Linked DNA regions of Homo sapiens: regions 2 and 3 are each linked to region 1. Evidence: promoter capture Hi-C in 16 types of primary human blood cells and fetal thymus (Javierre and others, 2016). All regions are on one chromosome and are shown on one strand. Each heading gives the region's core, a stretch centred on a gene start or on the middle of the fragment in contact. The rest is flanking DNA. Distances are from core to core; before and after follow the strand shown.

Region 1 (4,236 bases), core at 882-3,381:
GTTCAGTGATGTGTCCATAGACTTCTCTCAGGAGGAGTGGGACTGCCTGGACCCTGTTCAGAGGGACTTATACAGAGATGTGATGTTGGAGAACTACGGCAATCTGGTTTCAATGGGTAAGGGCATCTGTACCAGTGATTCCCAGTTCTCCTCTGGAATGTCTCCTTCTTCCACAGTGAATTTCTCAGCTGCTTTTCAGGTTACTAGCTGAATTTCTATTCTTTATTACCAAACAAATGGTTTGAGCTGAAATGAAAAGGAAGAGTGGGAAATTGGCAACTCCAGTGGGCTGTGGTTGAAGCTTCATCTTCATCTTTCTTTGGCTGTTCCTGTAGTGGCATCTCTTCCTGTGATCATCAAGGGACTGGATCTCCTTTACCCCCAGCATAACCATGTTCCATATCTTTTCTCGTGAGCAGGACTTTACACTCCTAAGCCTCAAGTGATCTCCTTATTGGAACAAGGGAAAGAGCCCTGGATGGTTGGCAGAGAGCTTACAAGAGGCCTGTGTTCAGGTAAGTGAGAAATGACCGGACAGGAGAAAGTCACGATAGGTCAGAACTCAGCTGGTCAGGGAGGAAACAGCACCTTTGAGATGTTATCCCTGAAGCTCCCATCAAGAAACTAGGCCAGTGGAGAAAATGAAGTCCTTTTAGCATAGTTGTTAAATAACCTGTTTCGCCCTTTTCCTCACTTACCACTATTTCTACTACTCCTCTCCAATCCTCCTCTTAATTTCAAGCAGAAGGTACCTTTTACTTCTCTAAAAAAAACCCTATTTTACCCGTATTTTAGATTCAGCTGCTTGCTAGCTTTTTTTACTCTCTCTCTTTTTTTTTCTTTTTTTTTAAAGGGTCTGGCTCTGTCACCCAGGCTAGAGTGCAGTGACATGATCATAACTTATTGTAGGCTCAAACTTCTGGGCTTAGGCAGTCTCCCTGCCTCAGCCTTCCAAGTGGCTGGGACCGTAGGCCTGTGCCACCATGCCTGGCTAATTCTTTTTCTTCTTCTGCATTTTTTTTTTTTTTTGAGACGGAGTCTCGCTCCGTCGCTCAGGCTGGAGTGCAGGGTGCGATCTTGGTTCACTGCAACCTCTGCCTCCCGGGTTCAGGCGATTCTTCTGCCTCAGCCTCCTGAGTAGCTGGGACTACAGGCGCATGCCACCATGCCCAGCTAATTTTTGTATTTTTAGTAGAGGTGGGGTTTCACCATATTGGCCAGGCTGTTCTTGAACTCCTGACCTCATGATCTACCCGCCTCAGCCTCCCAAAGTGCTGGGATTACAGGCATGAGCCACCGCGTCCGGCCCCTCTTCTGCATTTTTTAGACTTGTACAGGTGTTTTCTACTACCACTCCCCAAAATAATATAATTGCGTCTGTATACACACATGTGAACACACACACACACACACACACACACACACACACACACACAGAGACACACACACACACACCCCTTGCCCAAGTACTGGTCTTCATTATAGCTGCCTGTCAGTGACCTGTTTTATCAGACTGTCTTCAATGTTTCCTTTATGGAACGTTTTTTAATTTCCTGGTTTGTGTAAGGGAATCTTCCAGGTGCTACAGTTTACTAATTGTGTTACCTTTACAAATTCAAGGTCCAAAAGTGGTGCTAAAATATATACATATATGACTTCCACAAAGTAGAGTAGTATAAAAGAGAAATGAGATAAGGAGTTTAGCAGAAAGTCAAAGGCTAACTATGTAGAAGTGGAATTAATCCCTATTGAAGTAGTAGGTGGAGCCTTGGAAGTGACTGCAATCACTATGTATAGAGATATTGTTGGGGCCAAGAAAAAAAAAGGATCTGTGCCTATATTAAAAAGGAAGAGGTGGCAGAGCAGGAGAGATTTGGGATGAAGTAGGAGAACCAGAAGAGTACTTATTGAGCACTACTATGTACCAAGCATTGGTCCAAGGGCTGGGACTGTAGTATTCATGAAGGCATTCTAAAGTTCTGCACTTCTGAAGCCTACATTCTAGAGGGTAAGAGAGAAAATGTCTTAGTCCATTTTGTGCTGTTACAGCAGAATACCTCACATCGAGTAATTTATAAAGAACAGACATTTATTTTCTCATAGATCTGGAGGCTAAGAATTCTAAGATCAAGGCACTGTCATCTGATGAGGGCCTTCTTGCATCTTCGTGTGGCAGAAGGCAGTAGGGCAAGAGAGCCAACTCCTTCCATCAAGCCCCTTCGTAAGAGCACCGAAACCCATCCTTGAGGGATGGGTCCTTGAAGCCCGATCATCTCTTAAAGGCCTCACCTCTTCGTTTTTGGAATTTTTTTTTTTTTTTTGAGACAGGGTCTCACTCTGTCACCCAGGCTGGAGTGCAGCGGCACAATCATGGCTCACCACAGCCTCAACCTCCCGGGCTCAGGTGATCCTCCCACCTCAGCCTCCCGAGTAGCTCGGCCCACAGGCACACGTCACCACGCCCAGCTAATTTTTCTATTTTTTGTAGAGACAGGGTTTCGCCATGTTGCCCAGGCTGGTCTCTAACTCCTGGGTTCAAGCGATCCACCCACCTTGGCCTCCCAAAGTGCTAGGATTAAAGGCTTGAGCCACTGTGTCTGGCCCCCACCTCTTAATACTATCACATTGGCAACAGCTGAATTTTGAAGGAGAGACATTCAAACCATAGCAGAAGATAAACATGAATGTCAAGTATATATGTATAAAACAATATTAGCATGACATTAATATTATATGATATATAAATATTTTTAGAATTATATATCACTTACATTTATCTACATGTAACTAATATATTGGTATAGTATAAATATATATCATATATTAATAATATTTCTATATTATTATATGTCCATGTGTATATGAAATGTCAGGTGGTGGGTGATAGATAAGTGCTGTGAAGAGAGGCTAGAGAGGGCCTCTCTGATGAGGTGTTCTTTTAGTGAAGACTTGAAGGAAGTGAGGGAACAGGTAATGTAAATATCTGCTAGGAGAGATTCAGGCAAAGGGAACAGGAAGAGCCAAGTACTCGAGTTCAGAGCTTTTTGGCAGCCACCATTATGGCTGAAATTGAATGAGCAAAGCGGGAATTGTAGAAGAGGAGATCAGGAAAGTAGCAGGCTTATGAGTGTTTGCATGCTGGGTGCAGGTCAGGATGGGAGTTGGATGTACCTGTAGATGATTTTGGGTCTTGTGGACCTTGAATTTTACTCCGAATGAGGTGTAAATCCATTGAATGATTTAGCAGAGTGATATTATCATGTTTGCAAAGGATCATTCTTGCTCTAGGGGTTCCTAACTTTGGATTCCTTTAGGTAGAATTCAGGGAGTCCATGAACTTGGATGAGAAGAAAAAAATACATCTTTTTGGTTTTTTTTGAGACGGAGTCTCACTCTGTCACCCAGGCTTGAGTGCAGTGGTGTGATCTCAGCTCACTGTAGCCTCCACCCCGCAGGTTCAAGCGATTCTACTGCCTCAGCCTTCTGAGTAGCTGGGATTATAGGCGCCTGCCACTGCGCCCGGCTCATTTTTGTATTTTTAGTAGAGATGGGGTTTCACCATCTTTGCCAGGCTGGTCTTGAACTTGTGACCTCATGATCCACCTGCCTTGGTCTCCCAAAGTGCTGGGATTACAGGCATGAACCACTGTGCCCAGACCAAAAATACATCTTTATATTTAATAACCTCTAATTGAGATATAACATTTCTTCCTATCGTGATGTATGGGACAAACCATAGTAGCAGTAGTAGTAGTAGTAGTTACTGTGACTTTGACATTAATGGAAATCACAGATACGTTCATATTATTTTACTGTTATTGTAGGCATATTGAAATATTTATGCTCATCACTACTTCAGAATTAATGTAGTACTAGGCTTGCCACTAGGTCTTGTTTAATGTTTTACTAGAGAAGAAAACTCCAGGCAGAGAGAAGAACCCCTGTGAAGGTTCTGATGGGGAAAAGCTTGGTGTGTTTGAAGGACTAAATGCCAGTGTTGGTGGGCCCCATGATCAAGTGGGAGTGGAGTGTGAGTCAGGGTTTGGATAGACAGGCAGGAGCCACAGCATTCAGCCTTTGCAGGAGATTGTAAGGAGTTCGGACTTTGAGCAGTGGAAACCTAAGCCAAATGATACTATTCCCTGAATAGATTAAAGGGTGAGAGAGCTTGGTGGGGAGACTGGTTGAGGAGGCTACTTCACTGGTCTGGGTAAGAGTTGATTCTGGTTTGGAAGA
Region 2 (4,236 bases), core at 723-3,222, 910 kb before region 1:
TTGACAGGCCGGTATAAACCCCCGGCTCGGATCGAGCTATGCCGGATGCTGCCTTAAGCCTTATGAGGTCGCCACGGAACCGCAGGTGAGGGCCCACTTGAACTCCGTAGCTTTCGCCGTGGAGCTACAAACTGGAGGACAAGCGCAAGCCCTTGTCCTCCCCCATTCATTCACCATTCACACAGAGTTTATAACAGTTTTTCTTTTTTCTTTCCCAGAGATTCTCCAAGAAACCTGAACAAGGAAAGATTAGAGATAGAAAAAGAGAGAGAGAGAGACCAGTCTGCCAGAAACCAGGACTCAGTCCCCCAGCATCCTGGGATGTGGACTGACTCAAGGGATGGCCCCTGTCAGGGCCACTTCCCTCCCAGACAGAGACACAGAGGCGTCTAACAGAAAACCAGGGCTCTACCCTCTAGCATCCTAGAGAAATGGGCAGAGTCAAAAGAGGGACACCCTCATCAGGGTCGCTTCCCTCTGCCAGAACCAAAGTCAAATCTGACCTACCTGACCCCGGGGTCAGCAGTTGAGGACTCAGAGGTGGAATTTTTGTGGGCACCCACATGGTAGTCGATCCGCTGTCCTCCGGAAGACGGTCACCCTTTGGGGACCTGGAAATTTTTTTTTCAGGTGGCACTCCCCCCTACAAGCTGGCTGTCCTTCCGGGGGAGCACACAGCGGGCCCGGCTCTCGCCCGGTGACGTTTCTCCCGGTGACGTTTCTCGCTGGGGCCTCCAAATGTCGTACCTGAGCGAGTTAGAGAAAACGCCACACTTTGAGACAAATTAAAAGTCCATTTATTTAGCTGGCCGCCAAGAGATGGCTAATGCTCAAAATTCTCTCCGCTCTGAAGAAGGGGCTAGATCTTCTTTTATACTTTGGTTTAGAAAGGGGAGGGGAGGTCTAGTTAAAACAATTTTACAGAAATAAAGTAAGCAAAAAAGTTAAAAGGATAAATGGTTACAGGAAAGTTAATAGTTCCAGGTGCAGGGGCTTTAAGATTATTACAAGGTGATAGACGCGGGGCTTTTGGGCATAATCAATCGGATGAATTCCTCGGAACTGCGGATATAGCTTGCCACAGTATCTTAACAGTTAATTGCATTCTTGGATGTGCTGGGAGTCAGCTTGCACAAGTTAAGTCCTTGAGGAAGGGGCTGCCAGTGAAAGAGCCAAGATGGAGTCCATCTGGCGCTCTTAGCTAAGGGAGAGTCAATTCAGGTGGAAACAAGGCTAGGTGATTTAAGGAAAGGGAGAGTCTAAAAACAGGGTTAGTAAAAACCAGGTTGGGCATTACACTACTAAGATATCAAAACCAGGAACTTACTTCCTTTAAAACAATTCCAAACTAACTCGCTGTGCCTTACACAGAAATTTCCCCCAAGAAATATGGTTTTATAAAGCCTGAGAAGTTGTTGCTATTAGGACAAACACCAAAACTAAAAATTGGTTTAATTAGCAACAACAAAATTCCATTTTAACTGGCTGTCCTTATCAGAGACAGTCCACTAAATAATACAACTGGCAAAAAGTGAGATTTTGTAAAGGTTGGGGTGCTTTATTATAAACATAACATAAACCAGGAATGTATTTTAATAAACCTCAACCTGCGGGTCACTCCCTCCCAGGCGTGCAACAAAACACCTGCCTAGAAATCAAAAGGCGTTTTACCCGAGTGGGCTGAAAAAGCCCCGTTTTTACCTTTAATCTGGAGACAATACGGGTCAGAGGTCAGGAAACTACATCAGCGCCAGTGCGAGCGCCCACGAGTCCGGTGGACGGATGAGAAACGGCCGGGGGGCAGCCTGAGTCCCAGTTCCCGCCGTGGCAATGGCCAATTTCCCACCCGTGGACGCAAAAGGCCAGGACTCCACGCTGCTGACCCTCCAGCGTCCCATGTCCGGCAGGCACGTGGCCGAATAGCCCAAGACTGAGGACTCACACTTCCCACTTTGCACCTGGAGGCCACCTGCAGACCAACCTTGCGCCAGGCTTCCGGAAATGGGAGGGCGGGCTTCCGGAAACGGCGGCCAATGGGAAACGTGATCAGATGTTACTAGGCAGACAGTCCGTTTCCAGGCAACACAGAAGAAAGGAACGCGCTCAGTCAGCCTCAAATAGACGGAGATTTCAGCCAATGGATGTGCAGGTTCCCTCCACATTAGCCAATAAGAAGTGCTTGGGGCCTACCTGCCTACAAGCACAGCAAAAGCTTTCCTGCGCATTTTTGCGCTGGAATGGCTACCTGCCGCGCCAAATCAAAATTTACAATCACCCTTGGTGCTGTTTCCTGCACTTTCTTGGAGATTTGCACCAGGCGCTGGAGACCCTCCCACCTGGCCCATGCCTGCCACCCGGTGAACACCAAGACCCAACCTTCTGCACCACCAGTCTTGTTGTCAGCGAACAGGCTAGTAAATTATTGAAGGGGTGGCCTGCCCCTCCACACCTGTGGGTATTTCTCGTCAGGTGGAACGAGAGACTGAGAAAAGAAAGAGACACAGAGACAAAGTATAGAGAAAGAAAAGTGAGCCCAAGGGACCGGCGCTCAGCACACGGAGGACCTACAGGGACACTGGTCTCTGAGTTCCCTCAGTATTTATTGATCATTATCTCTACCATCTCGGAGAGGGGGATGTGGCAGGCCAATAGGGTAATAGTGGGGAGAGGGTCAGCAGGAAAACGTGAACAAAGGTCTCTGTGTCATAAATAAGTTTAAGGAAAGGTGCTGTGCCTTGATGTGCACTTATACAAACATCTCGGTGCATTAAAGAGCAGTATTGCCGCCAGCGTGTCTCACCTCCAGCCCTAAGGATGTTTTCTCCTATCTCAGTAAGTAGAACATACAATCGGGTTTTACACCAAGACATTCTATTGCCCAGGGACGAGCAGGAGACAGATGCCTTCCTCTTACCTCAACTGCAAAGAGGCCTTCCTCTTTTACTAATCCTCCTCAGCACAGACCCTTTTCGGGTGTCGGGCTGGGGGATGTCGGGCTGGGGGACAGTCAGGTCTTACCCTTCCCATGAGGCCATATCTCAGGCTATCACATGGGGAGAAATCTTGGACAATACCTGGCTTTCCTAGACAGAGGTCCCTGCGGCCTTCCGCAGTGTATTGTGTCCCTGGGTACTTGAGATTAGAGAATGGTGATGACTTTTAACAAGCATATTATCTTCAAGCACTTTTTTAACAAAGCATAGCCCTAAATCCATTGAACCTTGAGTCAACACAGCACATGTCTCTGTGAGCACAGGGTTGGGGCTAGGGTTACAGATTAACAGCATCTCAAGGCAGAAGAATTTTTCTTAGTACAGAACAAAATGGAATCTCTTATGTCTACTTCTTTCTACATAGACACAGTAACAGTCTGATCTCTCTTTTCCCCACAGAAGGGAAGGGAGGGAGGGAGGGAAAGAAAAAGAAACCTTAAGCATTTTTTACAGATGAGGGTTCTGCTCTCCCTTAGTTCAGCCATGCTGTGGGGGAAGGGGAAGGAGTGTGGTAAGATGGCAGAGGAGGAAATAAAATATGGATGGCTTCTGCCTTTTCAGTTCTTTTCCTCATTTCCTGGCTTACTGTCCCTGGTTTCTGACTGCTTTGTGGTGAAGCTTCAGAATTGGAGAGAAAAAGAGGCCAGAATTGGTGGCTTATGCCTATAATCCCAGCACTTTGGGAGGTCGAGGCAGGCAGATAACTTGAGGTCAGGTTATAAATGTTTAATACCTAAAATGATCAATACCTAAAAAAAAAATTTTTTTTTTGAGAGGGAGTCTCATTCTGTCACCCAGGCTGGAGTGCAGTGGCGCGATCTCGGCTCACTGCAACCTCTGCCTCCTGGGTTCAAGAGATTCTCCTGCCTCAGCCTCCCGAGTAGCTGGGATTACAGGTGAGCACCACCACGCCCAGCTAATTTTTGTATTTTTAGTAGAGATGGGGTTTCACCATGTTGGCCAGGCTGGTCTTGAACTCCTGACCTCAGGTGATCCACCTGCCTTGGCCTCTCAAAGTGCTGGGATTACAGGCGTGAGCCACCGCACCCGACCGATACTAAACTATTTTAAGAATCCTGAAAAATCAATAAATGAGAATGCAAAAAAAAATACAGCAAAGGCATCATTAAAAAGCACAGTAAACACGATTGGCCAATAAACGCATATGAACAGATGCTTGACTCACTTGTAATCAAGGTAATAATTTTTTTTTTTTTTGAAACCGGGTCTCACTCCAACACTC
Region 3 (4,236 bases), core at 813-3,312, 660 kb before region 1:
TATACCAGATTTTGAAAACTTGGTATAAAGATATGAGTGTAAAGTATTTCAGTGTATTCATATCATTACATGTTGAAATAATATTTTGGATATATTGGTTTAAATAAAATACATTACCAAAATTAACTTCAGCTGTTTCTTTTTCTTTTTAAAATGTGTTTAAAGCCGGGCGCAGTGGCTCACGCCTGTAATCCCAGCACTTTGGGAGGATGAGGTGGGTGGATCACCTGAGGTCAGGAGTTCGATACCAGCCCAGCCAACATGATGAAACCCCTTCTCTACTAAAAATTCAAAAATTAGCCGGGCATGGTGGCGGGCGCCTGTAATCCCAGCTACTTGGGAGGCTGAGGCAGGAGACTCACTTGAACCTGGGAGGCAGAGGTTGCAGTGAACTGAGATCGCACCATTGCGCTCCAGCCTGGGCAATAACAGTGAAACTCTGTCTCAAAAAAAAAAAAAAAAGTGTCTAATGGAAATTTTTAAATTACCTAAGTGGCTTTATATTATATTTGCATTAGACTGTGCTGCTTTAGACTCAGACACCACTGTATCAGGCTGCCTCTCACAATCTACACCAATGTCACACTGCCAAATCTCAAAGAAGATTTGGTTGTCACCACTTAAATCCCCTCATGAATGTTCTGGAAAAACTCCCTGCCCTTGTTGACATAGCCTCTCTGCATAAAACTCCTATCATATTCCCACTCCTAAATGTCTCCAAAGCCAACTTTGTCACTTACTGATTAATACCTACCATCTCCTATCTTGCTTTGTTTGCAAATCAAGTCTGTAAATAAGATCAAAGGTATCTAGTGTGCCATTCTACTTAATCACTCGTCTCCTCCTTAACAAATTACATTCTAAAAAAAAGTTTTAACTTCTCCTCCAGGAGTTGTATTTCTATACCATAAAAATCCTTTGGAAAAAAAGAAGCACATGGGAGAATTGAATGATTTACCTAATGCATATGTGAATATTCAATGAAAGGGAAATGGGCATTTGGAAAGGCAATGGAGGACAAGGGGACCCATCTCTACGGTCCTGTTGTTAATTGGGAAGAGAAAACCAAGGGACCAGGTAAATGAACAAAAAAAAAAACTAACCTTGAGTTGGCCATTAGTACCAATGCTGTCTTCCACTTCAGGGGGCCTTCACTTGCAGAACTACATAACCAAGAGGGAGAAAGGACTCATGACATCCTGGACTGGTTAAATAAGAACACAGTGTTCACCACCAGAAAAGCCCATCACACACAACAAACACACCCAGATCGAAGAGGGAAACTAGAATACTGTCGACTCCTCCCCACATCCGAGAAAAAGGTACGACCAATGCCTAGCAGTTTCTAGGGAACACAGCTCAGGAAATACTGTAGTTCTTTAATGTATAAATGGCCTCCAAACTCATGCAAGGGGAGTTATCCCAGGAATGAATACTACACCTATGCCCTCCCCTTCACGTCTTCCCAGGAAACTTCATTTATCTATCTTATCTATCTATCTATCTATCTATCTATTATCTATCATTTATCTATCTTCTATATATCATCTATGTAATCTATCTATATGCGTGTGTGTGTGTGTATAAGACCTCACGAAGAGATTCCATCACAGACATCACAGAGTCGGAAAAATGACGCTTTACCCAAAACAAACTCCTACAGGCTCACGGAAAAAAACGAACAAACAAACAAACAAAAAAAAACAAAAAAACACTTCTACCCCGTTCACACTTATAGTTGGTCACAACAGTGCTGTCACACGATCACGTCACCGTAGACCAGGGTCACACGATAGACCCCGCCCCTACTCACCGTCCTGAGTCCGATCAAACAGCACCCACGGCACACACTAGGGTCTCCGTCTCTCACACACACACACCACAATGACGTCGTAAACAATAGCACTAACCACCATCGTCCGCAGCTCCCGCGTACAGAGGCCTCAGGCTCCCGGCTCCACGTGGACCGACCTCGCCCGGCAGCGCGGGGCCACCTCACCGCGAGCTCCTCCCGCAGCCCGGCCCGGGTCACCTCGACTCGCCAGGCTTAACTCAATAACCACAACACCGGAAAAGGAAGCAAAGGTCGAAGTTCATCCGCGGCCCTGAGGCCTGTGGGAAACGTAGTCCAACAACGAAAGAGCCCTGAAGCTCAAGCGGAGCCCGCTGGCCGCAGGGGCCGCACCACGCCCCAGACCCTGGAGTTTCCGGGTGCGCAGACCCTTGCCATCAGCAGAGGCTGCCGCTGCGCGTCCCCTAGGCGCGGAAGAGGCGGCTGGTGGTCCCTGACGGCAAGGTGAAGTCGAGGCAGTAATCGGGAACCCAGGTTGGGAGGACAGAATGGGGAACAGGAAGCTGGGGCGAGGGTGGTCTTGGGGGAGGTGGGGGGCCGCGGAATTCTAGGTGGCCCCTGCCTCACCTCTGGAAAGAACCGGAAGCCCGGGCCGGGGAGGGTGAAGGGAGTCGCGGACCCGGCTGCTCAGCCGAGGAGGAAACCCGGACCCCAGGCTGAGGGAGGCCGAAGAAGGAACTGGAGGGCCGGGCTGGGAAGGCCTGAAGCGGGTACAGCCTTTAGGCTGGGGAGGGTCGAGGGGAGAACTCGGAGCCTGAGTCGGGCGAGGTTTTGCTCCACTCTGGCTTCTAAGTGTGGGGGCCTCAGGATGTGACCCGTGGTCGTAAACCTGAGGGTGACTTGGAGTTTTTGTCCGTTTTGCACCATGAGAAAGGCCCCAGATGGAATCTGGCAGGTAGCGGCGGTTCAGTGTGTGTGTGTCTGCCTTAGGGCGTGTTTTACACTGTTGACGAAAAGACTCAGACTCTAAAGTATTTGAAGAGACTTATTCTGAGCTAAATATGAGTGACCAATGGCCGGTGGCCCAGCCCTCAGGAGATCTTGAGAACCTGTGCCCAGGGTGGACGGGATATATGTGGTTTTATACCTTTTAGGGAAACATGAGACACCAATCAAATACATGTAAAATGTACATTGATTCCCTCCGGAAAGGCGGGACAGCTGGAAGGTGGCTGGCCTTCCAGGTCATAGGTAGATTCAAAGATTATTTGATTGGCAATGGGTTGAAAGAGTTATTGACGTAAGACTTAGGAATGTCTCCAGGTAGCACGCTTCACAGAGAATAGATTGTAAATGTTTCTTTTCAGACTTGGGGTCTTTTCTATCAGTAATTCCAAAATGGAGGAGGGTATAATGAAGCATGTCCGACCCGCCCACCCCCGCCTTTCCATCATGGCTTTACTAGTTTTTCAGGTTAGGAATGCCCTGGCCAAGAGGAGGGGTCCATTCAAGATGGTCTGGGTGTGCTTAGGATTTTATTTTTGGTTTACAACACCAGCACCACCGGAGTTTGCTGGTGTCCTTTCCAGTCAGTTTCAAAGCAGAGACAGCCATAGTTCTGATTTGTGTCACTGTAACTGTCAGTTCCGGAATTCCATATTTCTCCTTTAGTTTACCCTAATGTGTGTGAGATTTCATGTGTAGTTCATTTTTCTTTTTCTGAACAGCACTCCATTGTGCAAATATACCACAATTTGTGTAGTCATTTTTCTGTTGTTGAACATTTGGCATATTTACAGGTTTTATACATTACGAATAAAGCTGGCACGTTTCCATTTCTCCTGGGCAAATATTTAGAAGAAAAGTTGCTGGGTAATTGGTAAGTTTACATTTAACTTTCCAAGAAGCTGATAAGCCTTTTAGAATGATTAGTTGTGATTTGTGTGTGTGAGATTGTGTAACTGGAGTAAGTAGTTTCTGAGTTTGCTTTGCTATGTTTGTATGGAATTATAAGATGGGCTCAACAGGGTTGTGAATGTCATGTAGGATCCATAGGATTGTGGCTTTGTGGAGTAGGTAAGATCACAGGAAACTGAATGTGTCTGTGCTAATTGTTATTTATCATGGTTTTGTGTGTACATTCCATGATAACTGAAAATGGATCACTATGTAAGTGATGTTAATGACTGAAGAACTCTGTGTGTCTGGTGTATTTCATTTTGCTTGCAGAATTATGACAGTTTCTAATAACTAAAATATCACAAGCATTGGAAACTAGGAGGTAAAATTATAATTTCTAGATGACAGGGTTGCATTACCTGGAAACATCATACAAACTAAATCCAATATGTTGAAATGAGGACTCCATATGTAGCACAGAAGTAAAATACTTTCATCCCTACCACTTTGAATAGTTATATAGATTTGAGGTCCCCTCCCACCCA

The links. Contacts are between HindIII fragments. The CHiCAGO score rates a contact against its expected background, and 5 or more counts as called.
Region 2: the fragment with the promoter of LINC00665 here is called in contact with a fragment that was not itself captured in region 1 in 15 of 17 cell types (total CD4 T cells, naive CD8 T cells, total B cells and 12 more); the score reaches 25.3 in total CD4 T cells.
Region 3: the fragment with the promoter of ZNF529 here is called in contact with a fragment that was not itself captured in region 1 in 17 of 17 cell types (total CD4 T cells, naive CD8 T cells, activated CD4 T cells and 14 more); the score reaches 36.1 in total CD4 T cells.

Annotation. Positions count from the first base shown.
Region 1 is chr19:37,235,560-37,239,795 of GRCh38, forward strand. ZNF383 (zinc finger protein 383) reads left to right here. Exons shown (of 6, transcript NM_001387601.1): 4 at 1-116; 5 at 420-515. Among named protein-coding and RNA genes, the nearest start is that of LINC01535, 14 kb to the right of the region's middle. The HindIII fragment of the contact is 3,665 bases long and covers 300-3,964 here.
Region 2 is chr19:36,329,746-36,333,981 of GRCh38, forward strand. It overlaps LINC00665 (long intergenic non-protein coding RNA 665), which reads right to left and starts at 1,973. Exons shown (of 6, transcript NR_038279.1): 1 at 1,702-1,973; 2 at 508-747. The HindIII fragment of the contact is 13,687 bases long and covers 1-2,210 here.
Region 3 is chr19:36,571,230-36,575,465 of GRCh38, forward strand. ZNF529 (zinc finger protein 529) reads right to left here and starts at 2,063. Exons shown (of 5, transcript NM_020951.5): 1 at 1,911-2,063; 2 at 1,104-1,163. The coding sequence starts at 1,117. It overlaps ZNF529-AS1 (ZNF529 antisense RNA 1), which reads left to right and starts at 2,120. Exons shown (of 5, transcript NR_173348.1): 1 at 2,120-2,326; 2 at 3,592-3,671. RefSeq lists an enhancer at 2,120-2,209. The HindIII fragment of the contact is 11,229 bases long and covers 1-4,236 here.